Regions from separate parts of the Homo sapiens genome. Here all the other regions are linked to region 1. The links are contacts of gene promoters, found by promoter capture Hi-C in blood cells and fetal thymus (Javierre and others, 2016). All regions are on one chromosome and are shown on one strand. The core of a region is centred on a gene start or on the middle of the fragment in contact, and the rest is flanking DNA. Distances in the headings are between cores, read along the strand shown.

What was found. Contacts are between HindIII fragments. The CHiCAGO score rates a contact against its expected background, and 5 or more counts as called.
Region 2: a fragment that was not itself captured here is called in contact with the fragment with the promoter of DTHD1 in region 1 in 1 of 17 cell types (M0 macrophages); the score reaches 7.5 in M0 macrophages.
Region 3: a contact is called between a fragment that was not itself captured here and the fragment with the promoter of DTHD1 in region 1, in 2 of 17 cell types (M1 macrophages and M2 macrophages). The highest score is 5.1, in M1 macrophages.

The regions. Positions count from the first base shown.
Region 1 is chr4:36,279,710-36,283,389 of GRCh38, reverse strand. It overlaps DTHD1 (death domain containing 1), which reads right to left and starts at 1,774. Exons shown (of 10, transcript NM_001170700.3): 1 at 1,361-1,774. The coding sequence starts at 1,631. The HindIII fragment of the contact is 1,630 bases long and covers 1,067-2,696 here.
Region 2 is chr4:37,902,475-37,906,154 of GRCh38, reverse strand. It overlaps TBC1D1 (TBC1 domain family member 1), which reads right to left. Exons shown (of 22, transcript NM_001396959.1): 2 at 3,643-3,680. Among named protein-coding and RNA genes, the nearest start is that of TBC1D1, 13 kb to the right of the region's middle. The HindIII fragment of the contact is 1,716 bases long and covers 896-2,611 here.
Region 3 is chr4:37,363,007-37,366,686 of GRCh38, reverse strand. The region is part of intron 3 of NWD2 (NACHT and WD repeat domain containing 2); the gene reads right to left. Among named protein-coding and RNA genes, the nearest start is that of PGCKA1, 89 kb to the left of the region's middle. The HindIII fragment of the contact is 1,604 bases long and covers 883-2,486 here.

The sequences.
Region 1 (3,680 bases), core at 525-3,024:
TAGTCCTTCAGAGAATAGCTCTGACCATACCAATTCTCTGATTGGAACCTGAAGTGGCTACTCAAAGCCTACTAACTCAGGTCAACCTTCTTCACTCTGAAGTAAACTCTTAGCATGATCAAATCTTATATAATCTCTCACTCCGTCATCATTCTTCCCACTCTCCTATTTGTTCATCCTGCTTCTCCTCACTACTGAGGTCACCTGATGACTTCTTGCAGGCTTAGTACCTCTCTAGTCTTTAGAATTCAGTTCTGAACTAAAGAATAGGTAATTTAAGGCCCCATAGCTTAGTGTTTTTAAAGCCATCACCAAATCATCCCTTCACCAGTCAGGGCTTTTCTTTGGGATCCAGTTCTGACAACTTGTGTTTTGTTTTGTTTTGTTTTTGTCTTATACCTGAGAACTTGTCTTTATTTTTAACTCCTATTCTGGTAACCAAGTCCTTGTTTTTTTCTGAATATATATTTGCTTGTTATATTGCCAAAGACCATGTTCCACTCCCTCCAGAGGCTAAAGGTCTCATTGTGGGCTGCAGCTGATGGCTTCTCAGTCATGCTGCCTTTAGACAGATTTCCCTGATGCCCACTATTTGCCCTTTAGATTGAATTTCTTAACATCATCTACCCTGGATTTCCTCATAGATGGAACCTGCCCACTTATCTTGATACTGTATTATTTAGAGTTGAATTTCATGATGCCACCTATATGCTTATCTGGAGTAACTGTTGTTATCTAGGATTATATTCATCAGATTCCACATTCTTCCTGCCTTACTGTACTTTTCCACATCCATAACTGGACCTATTCCCAAGAATCCCTCTCCAGCCCCAGTGCATGGGGATCCAATTCCCTATCCCAACCCACTCCAGTCTTCCCAGTAATTTTGCAATCAATAAGGCTAAGCTCAAATGACCCTAGAGATAGAATACTATATTCTGATATAAAAAACAAACTACTAGCTCTGCCTCAGTGGCCTGTATTTTCCTGTCTCTAAGTCTTGGATCCTACTAAAATTACCGACTCTCTCTTTCCTGCTGCATAAATCCAATTCACTCTTTAAGCTTCAGCTTAAATACTACATTTTTCTAGCAAACTTCTCAATTCCCCACCCTACAGATGGGATTTAAACTGCTTCTGAAGTCCAAAAGCACTTCATTCATGTGTTTCTAATGGGACTGGCCCCAATGTCCCTGGCATTATTGTGCATTTGTCTCAACTTATTTCCCCTTTGAAATTGTTAGTCTCTTGTGGACAGAAACTCTATCTTAGCCTATCTGGTATACTCATAGCCCCTCTCAGATCTTGCCCTAATCAATATTTCTTAGAGAAAGAATAAACTAAAAAAAAGAATACTTGCCTTTTCTCGAGACACATTGATTCTCTTTGTCAAGCAGCACATGCAGCTGCTGGCAGGTGGAACGCAGGGTGCCTGAGGTGTGCTCCAGCAGCTGGTGAAGGGCACTGCTGAGTTCCTGACCCAGAAAGACCACAGTGGCCATCCAAGTGGCCCCACCAGCCCCCTCACAAAGGTCATCACCCAAGAGTGCCTGCTTTAGCATCTGGTTTTGTCTCCAAATCTGCTTCAATATTTGGCCCAGTTTACCTGAGCCCATGTATTCCATATCCATTTTATGATCCAAAAGTGGTATTTTCTCTCCTGCCAGCAAAGCCTAAAGGTTTTGCAAATTCAAACTTTGTGATTGTTATTTCTCCTAAACTCTAGGAGATGATCCGAGTCAGCTAGCCCAGCACTTTCTCACAACATAGTGGTTATTCAGTTTGGTGTTGACTAGTGAAAAGTTACTAGGTGACCGAAGAAGGGGCGTTCCTGTACCATGGGTGCTACTGTGTACAGAATACATTAATCACTGGGGTAGAGCTGACTCACATGATCCAACTCTCTGTGTAAGTTTTACAAATTCAATATACTGTGGAAGTACCAAATACTTTTCAAGTTTTGAGGCAACAAAATACAGATTCCAGGTAGGGTAAGAAGTTTATTAATCAAAGGTAAACTGTATGAACAATATTGCTGGCAGGATTCCTGTAAACTTAAAAATATTTATGAATGAAATAATGTGATGTCTGATTTTGCTTCTAAATAATCAGGGAGCATAGGGGTGGGTAGAGGTATAAAATTTGCTGTAAGAATTAATAAATGTTGAAGCTGGATATGTTTACACATGGGGTCTTGACAATTCACTCTAATTAATGTGTATATGTATAGTATTTTTATAACCAAGAGTTTAAAAAGATTCCTCTACTGGAGCAGAGCCTATTGCATTGGTTAGGAAGTTATAATTAGCATCTTCTTATGTGGTAAATCTGCAGAGACTGAGATAAGAACTTGGCCTCTGATAATTTCCCTCTAATTGGATAAAATGCCCCTTCACTGAAAGAAAGTAAACCTGAAGAGTAGCTTTCTCTAAACTAGCAAGGATTCTTTACCATATGTAATTAAAATTCAGATACAACAAGCTCTCCCCACTGCTGCCCATCTGCCTGCCAGCGCATCATATATGGGGCTATGCAATGCAGCACTTGCGGGTATTTGGAGGAAACCAGAACAGTCTGCCTCCCTCTCTCCAATCCCACTGCTCAGAGAGAACACACACCTAAGCCAAAGGAAGAGGGCAGCAAGTACATTCCAGAGAGGCTCATGTTCCCTCGGGTACTGGAACAAAATGAAAGCTTTTCAAGTGGAAGCCGGAGTGCTTCCCTCCCACAGGCAACACATTATCTCATCTTAAGCCCTGGAGTTCTAAGAGCTACACTCAGGGCACCTGGAAGACAAGATGGGAAAAACAAGCCCAGAGAATAAATAATGAAGAATGACTGCCACTGCCCTAAAGACTGTCAAAGACCCTGAAGGAAAGGAGCAGTATTGAGTACTGGTGGCTGCAGAGTGGAGAGGGGCTCCTTCACCACTAAGTGTCTTATTTTTCAGTTAACTTCTGTTCACTGAAAAGGGGACCTTTTTCGCAGTATGAGTTCATATCACTTCATGGATTGGATCATTTAAATCTTCTCAAACTAAAGACTCACTCATTCAATTCTATTTTCTTTTCTTACTCCTTAAATGGATGTGTCATTCTCAATAATAATGTACACATGGCTTTAATTCAATGCTAATTTTGAAAACTTCCTATAGCATTTACTGTGGGACAGGAACTAAGTGCTGGAGGTCAGGCCTTTTTAGGATTTCAAGAGACAGATGCATGAACAGATTATTGAAATAAAGCTTAGTCTGTGTTGAGAGCTAGAGCAGAAGTATAAAGAAAAAGTATCATAAAAGCTTTGAGGAGTTAAAAAAATAATTCTGCTTAGAGGCCTGGAAAATGTTTGAATTAGAAACTAAAGGATAAGCAGGCTATGGAGTAAAAGAAAAAAAATATTCCAGCATAGGAAATAATATGATCAAAGTCACGGAGGCATGAGATTACACAGTAGGATCAAAAATGTAAAAGTATGGCTTTGGAGGAAGGTTCAGTTAACGAGTCAGAGGTGACAAATGAAGAGTTCAGTAATTGTAGATAGTGAGGAGAAGAAATTAGAATTTTGGTTTACAGATAAGACAGAAATTGAATATATTTGAATCAGACTGCAATGTGATGAAATCTGTGCTGTAGAGATGCAGATGTATTAGATGACAGAGATATAAGAGTTAGGAGGCTCGA
Region 2 (3,680 bases), core at 504-3,003, 1.6 Mb before region 1:
AAAAGAAAAAGAAGGGACGAGACAATATTGAAGATGAAGCCTGCAGCAGCAGACCATCCAGATAATTGTTTGAGGAAAATATTCATCTTGTTCATGCCCTCATTGAAGAGGACCAACTAGCCAATATCATAGACATCTCTGCTGGTTCAGCTTACACAATCCTGGATGAAAAATTAACACTGAGCAAACGTTTTACTAGATGGGTGCCAAAACCATTGCCCTCAGATCAGCTGCAGACAAGAGCAGAGTTTCTAATGGAAATTTTAAACGGGTGGGATCAAGATCCTGAAGCATTTCTTCAAAGAATTGTAACAGGTGATGAAACATAGTTTTACCAGCGCAATCCTAAAGATCAAGACAAATTTAAGCAATGGCTACTGAGAGCAGAAGTGGTCCAGTCAAAGCGAAAGTGGACTGGTCAAGGGCAAATGGTTGCAATAGTTTTTTGGGATGCCCAAGGCATTTTGTTTGTTGACTTTCTGGAGGGCCAAAGAATGATAACATCTGTTTATCATGAGAGTGTTTTGAGAAAGTTAGCCAAAGCTTTAGCAGAAAATCGCCTGGGAAAGCTTCACCAGAGTCCTTGTCCACCATGACAATGTTCCTGCTCATTCCTCTCATCAAACAGGAGCAATTTTGCAAGAGTTTCCATGGGAAATCATTAGGCATCCACCTTACAGGCCTAATTTGGCTCCTTCTGACGTCCTTTTGCTTCTCAATTTTAAAAAATCTTTAAAGAGCGCCAATTTTTCTCCAGTTAATAATGTATAAAAGACTGTATAAACATGGTTAAATTCCCAGGACCCTCAGTTCTTTAGAGACCGACTCAATGGCTGTTAACATTGCTTACAAAAGTGTCTTGAACTTGATAAAGTTTATCTTGAGAAATAAAGCTTATGTATATATGTGTTTTTTACTTTTTAATTCAATTTTTCCACAAAATGTTTTGAAGTTTCCTCATATTCTATGGAACATACAATAGAAAACAATCTCATGGCATGCTTATAAAATTGTTCCTTTACATGCCTCTTCTCCCAAGACATTACTCAGTGAATTAATTAGATGCTGGTCAAAGGGTTTCCTCGCAAACTGTAGTTTTGTGTTTATGATGCTGGCAGTAAATGCATATGTCTTCTCTGGCAAATGCAGTTAGTGCTGACCTCATCTGTTTAGAAGAGGCCTTAACCTGGAGAATTATTTCACCCAGCAAATGTTATAAGTAGTCAAGAGAATGCTCCTACAGCAGATAATCCTTCGCTATGAGATACAGTGACATTGGTGTCCCAAGAACAGAAAATCTATCACGCTGTTAGCATCATGGCCAGTGTGATTTACTGTTCTGTTTCCAACAACAAAATCACTGATTGAGGTATATACCTATACTACAAATTATTCTTTTATTAAATGAGCAGAGTAATGACAATTTGTGTTTGCAAAAATGGTATGCAAGCCAAAAATCACTTAAGAACTAATTCATATTTCAACCATGGGTTTTTAGCATATAGAGTAAGTCCAATTCTCTACTTGGGGAAAGACTGGAAGTCCCAATTACAGAATTTGGTTATAAATCTCTTTCTCTTGTCAGGCATCCGAATGACTGGCCAGAAGCCTATTCTCAGATGGCCGTAAAAGATTTTGGGAAAGAGTCAAATGTGTAAAATGCTGAACAACGATTCCACGCACAAACTCTCCCCAAGGAAATTCAGTCCAAATACTATATAGAGCTGGACTGAGGTACAGGCTGTTCAGTCCTCTCATTTTCATTCTGGAATTTGTCCAAATAATAGGAGCCATTAAGTTATACGTGTAGTTTTTAAAATGTTCCTCAAATATGACCAGAATCTCATCTTTGAAAGCTGAAGGCACTCATCTAGGTATCATGTTTCTTTTTACCTAAGACGTGAAATGAAATTAGCATATAATCTGCCTCTAGTAAAATTTTCTTGAATGAAAATGTTTTTATGGCTATAAATGCTTACTAAGTTTCAGGTCGAGTGCTACCTCATTTAGTCTTTCCAGCAACTCTATTGGATAAATACTGTAATTATCCCCATTTAACAGATAAGAAAACAGACTCAATTGCCTGAGGCCACCCAGTTTATGGGTGCAGAAGTAGGATTAGAGTACAGGAAGTTAGTCCCTCTGAATCTCCAAGCCTGATGCTGCCGTGCCCACTTGAGATGTGTGGACAATAACATGAAATGATTTATAATATGAGAGTTTGATTCTGTGAGTGAAATGGTGGTTTTGAGCTCCATATTAGCCTTTATTTCACAAAGCCTTCTCTACCCTTTGGGTGTGTGTTAGGCTCCCTTCTCAGTCCTTCCATTATGTCCTATACATAGATCACCTGGTCCTATTCCCCACTGATGCTCCTGCCTTCCTACAAGCCTCTGCTAATATCATCTCCAACAGTACCTGCAACAGCAATTCTGAATGACTAGAAGAACCAACAAATGAACAAGCAAAAGGGCATCTACTTGATACCAAGAATATTAATTTCTAAATAAGGTCCTTACACCCTAGAGAGTACATAAAATAACCTAATGGAGTGCAGAGAGAAAACTTTAGCATTTCTATCCAGATTTTAACCTTGAAAATATGAGAAGCTTTCAAGGCTTCACTGACAGTTAACAGGTGGATTGACACTCGCATCCTCGCCCTGTACATGTGGCAGACAGCTTGAATCACATGTGACTTGGCTTGCTTGGCACCCAAAACAACGGCAAGACTCCACAGTCCATGGGGTTAGCTGTGGAGCCCTGAGCCCAACTGAGAAAGTTGCTATTTGCATTATATTTTCAATTTTATCTAAGCTAATCCTCATAAAATGGGCAAGCATCTTCAAATGAGTCCTGCCCAGAGCTACAACGAATGCTAATAACAAAGCAAGCACAAATGAACGAGGAAAGAGCAGAACTTTTACCATGTCTCACATTTTTTTTCAGCCATATCATGTGATAATAACAAGCTAATCAGATCTGACCTGAGGTTTGCGAAAGAAAAAAACACAAAGAACCCCTGATCGCATCAAAACTTAGATGCATATCCAGCGTTCTTATCAATGACCTTTGCCTAAGTGAACATTATGCCTTGGGAAACTGGCCAGTAGCATTTTTACACAGTTTACGAATGACTATATTTTTCTTAATAGGATTACAAATGTGGAGATTTAGAACTTTGCCACTCAAAGTGCAACCTGCAAAAGGGCAGCATCAGCATTTCTTGGCAGCTTGTTACAAATGCAGTCTTGGGGTCCACCCCAGACCTACTGAATCAAGATTCACATTTTAACAAGATCCCCAGGTGACTCACAAGCTCATTTCAGTTTGAGAGGCATGGCTTTAGAACATTCATCTGAAATAATGTACATCTTAACACTTCTGCTCTTAATTAGTAGTTTTAGACTGATTTCTCTTGAATTTTTGAACTCAAAAACTGATAATTTCTCGTATCTGTTTTCAAATGTGCTTTAAAACTATAAACTATCACCATAAAACAAAAATTCAGCTAAGTAATCAATTTATAACTGCAGCATTAATTCCTTATTCATTTCAGTATACTTAAAATAAATATCCTGACCCCCATACAATAAAAACCAGCCAGCCACACCTTAGTCTTTTGGATCTCCATCTCACTTACTTTTGTTTGATCATCGGCTTTGAACACATAGCAGATAC
Region 3 (3,680 bases), core at 435-2,934, 1.1 Mb before region 1:
TCCATGGCATATATATCTATATCTAGATATACATACTTTTATCATTTTACTCTCAGCCGATTTATGCCCTTTCCTTTAAAGAGAACTCTTGAAAACCGCATACAGTTGAACCTGTATTTAATAGGAAGATTTAGATTATTTACAGTGAATAAAATAGTTGTGTTATCTTTCTGCTTGTTTCATCTATTCTTTAGTCTTCCTTTTAAAATTAGTCATAGTTTCTTGATTCCTTGCATGTCTTGTAATTTTCATGGTATTCTGAACTTCATTTTTAAAATAATGGTTATTTAGGGGTTCCTTTCCTATGTTAGACTGATAGGGCAATGGGAGGCTTATCACATTCCCATTAGTAACTGAACTGGGCCGCGGCTCGGTTGCAGTTTTAGATTCTGCTTACTTTGAATTAAAATGCCTCAAAGGCAACACCAGTTAGATGTTTGTGCTACATTCTAGTGGACTTTGTCTCCTGTACACCAAGATATTATTGGAGACTTTATTCTGCCTTTCCATCCCAGCTTCCTAACCTCCCATGTTGCTCAATGTTCAGCATTGAGCATTCATGGAGAAAACTCCCAGTGATTTGGGGGTTCCTCTATCTGTAAAGCCAGCTTACCAAGAAATGACTCATTTCCTTCTGGAAATTGAGTGTGTCTAATCACATTTGTCTCCACAGCCCTACTGTCTTTTTAAAAACATGATGTTTACATTTTACCTTTTTAAAAAGTTGTTGCTGGCCTACTTAGAAGTCCTTTGGACTACAGCTATAAAAGTGAACATTTTTCTTTACCAATTAAATTATAAAGAGACTGAGTACTCTCCCGTCCACTTTTTCTCCATAATTCTTTTTATCATAAAAAAATGCTTTCTTACACCAACTAAGCTTAAGCTATAGAAATAGCTTATATGTTAGTAAAAGTTTACTGTGGAAATACTTAATATATTAGCAATAATTATTTCAACGGCCCTCTTGGCTTTCACCAGACAATTAAATACTGTTGAGAAGAAAGCTAATTTTCCATGTTTGTCCATTCTAAAGCTCTTTTGGTGATATCAAGTCACTAATTATTGAAACCTATTTCAGAGCTATGATAACTAGTTGATTTCAACTGGACAAACATTTTTATAAGTAAAGAAATATTTGTTTCTCTGGACTATATGAGCAAAATACCTGGAAAATCTGAGGCTTTAGATTTTTATTTAAATAAAATTTGTAAGAAAGATCTTTTTAAGCTAGACTGTTTAATTTAGATGACTTTCCAGTTCAAATCAATGACTGTTTTCTCATTTTAAAATACATTTTGGTTGGTAGAACTGTACTTATAAAGGTTAGAACTAAATGATACAAACCCCCCTGCACTTTAAAATATGAATGAAAATTAAGTACTTATTTAAATTTTTCATGTGTGTATTTTGTTTTGTATACCTAAAATGATAAAGCAAACATACTGGAATATGGATAAATGTGAAATATTTTCCAAAGCTAAGTGATTTTAAAAATACTGTAATTATTTCAAATGATTTAAGAAATCTCATCATATAGTTTTCTTTTACTAAAAATTATTTAAAGAAACTAAACTGTAAGGAGACATAATTTAACCTGAAGGAGAGTGATGAGAAGGTGAGAAGGAACTGACCTATATGCTATAAGTTTGAGAGTAACTCAGTGATATACAAAAATAGAATGTTAGTCTTTGTCAGTTACAGCTACACACTTTGTCTTGTCTTTACTCTTCTGCCTAGTGAAAAAACAAACTTGCTGAATAACAACAGATTTCACAGTTCAATCCCTTAAGTTGTCATATTTTTGGTTTAAAATATGGCCCCGTTCAAAATGTAGCTCTCTGGGCTTCTTTCTTCTTACTTTGTGCATACTGGGCTTAGGGTCCACTGCCAGGAGCTGCCTGTGGTGGGTATGAGCATGACCCATTCTCTGTTCCCTGCTAGCTGTGCCACTGATGGCAGTGTGTGTGTGTGTGTGTGTGTGTGTGTGTGTGTAAGTGGAGGTAGAAGTCTGCTCTGACATCTGCTTATACTCAAGCAACAATGGTGATATGCCCATTCTTTTGGTCTCTGCTGCTTCTTTACTCAATGCTGACAGATTGTGTTTGTTTATATATGTGTGTAATCTCACAGCCCCGATGAGGATGCTACATGGGTGTTGGTTCACTGAGAGCTCAGGGAGTTGACAAGGCATACTACTGCAGGCAAGATTCCTCTTGCCTGCTGTATGGGAACACCCCTCTAAATGTGAAGTCACAGAAGAACCTCTTACCTGCCTCCATTGGTGGTAATGGTGCTCCTCTCATCGCATGCGTGGTATCAGGCTTGGCTCTTCTAGGGTCACCTGCCAATGCTTCTCCCACAGCAAATTTCCACCTCATCCACACTACGGATTGAGGAACTGTAGTGAGATGCTATGAGCATCCTCCAGGGATGCCACACACATGGTGGAGTGGGGACGGATTCTCCAATACTGTAACTAAGCTTTTCAAACTCTAGTTGCTCAAGACAGCAGAGTGTAAGTTGTCTACTTTTGTTTGTTTGTTTTTGAGACAGAGTCTCGCTCTGTAGCCCAGGCTGGAATGCAGTGGTGTGATCTTGGCTCACTGCAACCTCCGCCTCCTGGATCCTGGTTCAAGCAATTCTCCTGCCTCAGCCTCCCGAGTAGCTGGGATTACAGGCATGCACCACCATTCCCAGCTAATTTTTTTTTTTTTTGTATTTTTAGTAGAAAAGGGGGTTTCACCACGTTGGCCAGGCTGGTCTTGAACTCCTGACCTCATGATCCACCCGCCTTGGCCTCCCAAAGTGCTGGGATTACAGGCCTGAGCCACTGCGCCCGGCCGTCTGCTTTTTTATATATAATTTCAACTTTTATTTTAGATTCAGGGCATACATACGCAGGTTTGTTACCTGGCTGTATTGCATGATGCTGAGGTTTGGGATACGACTGATCCCATCACCCAGGTGCTCAGCATAGTACCCAATAGTTTTCAACCCTTGCCCCCTCCCTCATTCTCTGTGCCACTGATGGCAGCATGTGTGTGTGGCTGAGTAGTCCCCAGTTTCTATTGTTGCCAGCTTTATGTCCATGAGTACCCAATTTTTGGTTCCCACTTGTAAGTGAGAACATGTGGTATTTGGTTTTCTGTTCCTGAGTTAATCCACTTAGGAAAATAGCATCCAGCTTCATCCATGTTGCTACAAAGAACATAATTTCTTGCTTTTCTATGGCTGTGTAGTATTCCATGGTGTTTATGTACCATATTTTCTTTATCCAATCCACTAGACGTGGACACCTAGATTCTTTGCTATTGTGCTGTGATGAACATGTGAGTACATGTGTCTTTTTGGTAGAAAGACTTATTTTCTTTTGGATATATACCCAGTCATGATATTGCTGAGTTGAATGGTAGTTCTCAGTTCTTTCAGAAATCTCCAAACTGCTTTTGACACAGTGGCTGAACTAATTTACATTTCCACCGACAATGTATAATCTTTCCCTTTTCCCTACAGCCTCACCAGCATCTGTTGTTTTTTGAGTTTTCAATAATAGTCATCCCTACTAGTGTGAGATGATATCTCATTGTGGTTTTGATTTGCATTCCTCTGATGATTAGTGTTGATAAGCATTTTTTTCATACGTTTGTGGGACACTTGTATGTCTTCTTTTGAGAAGT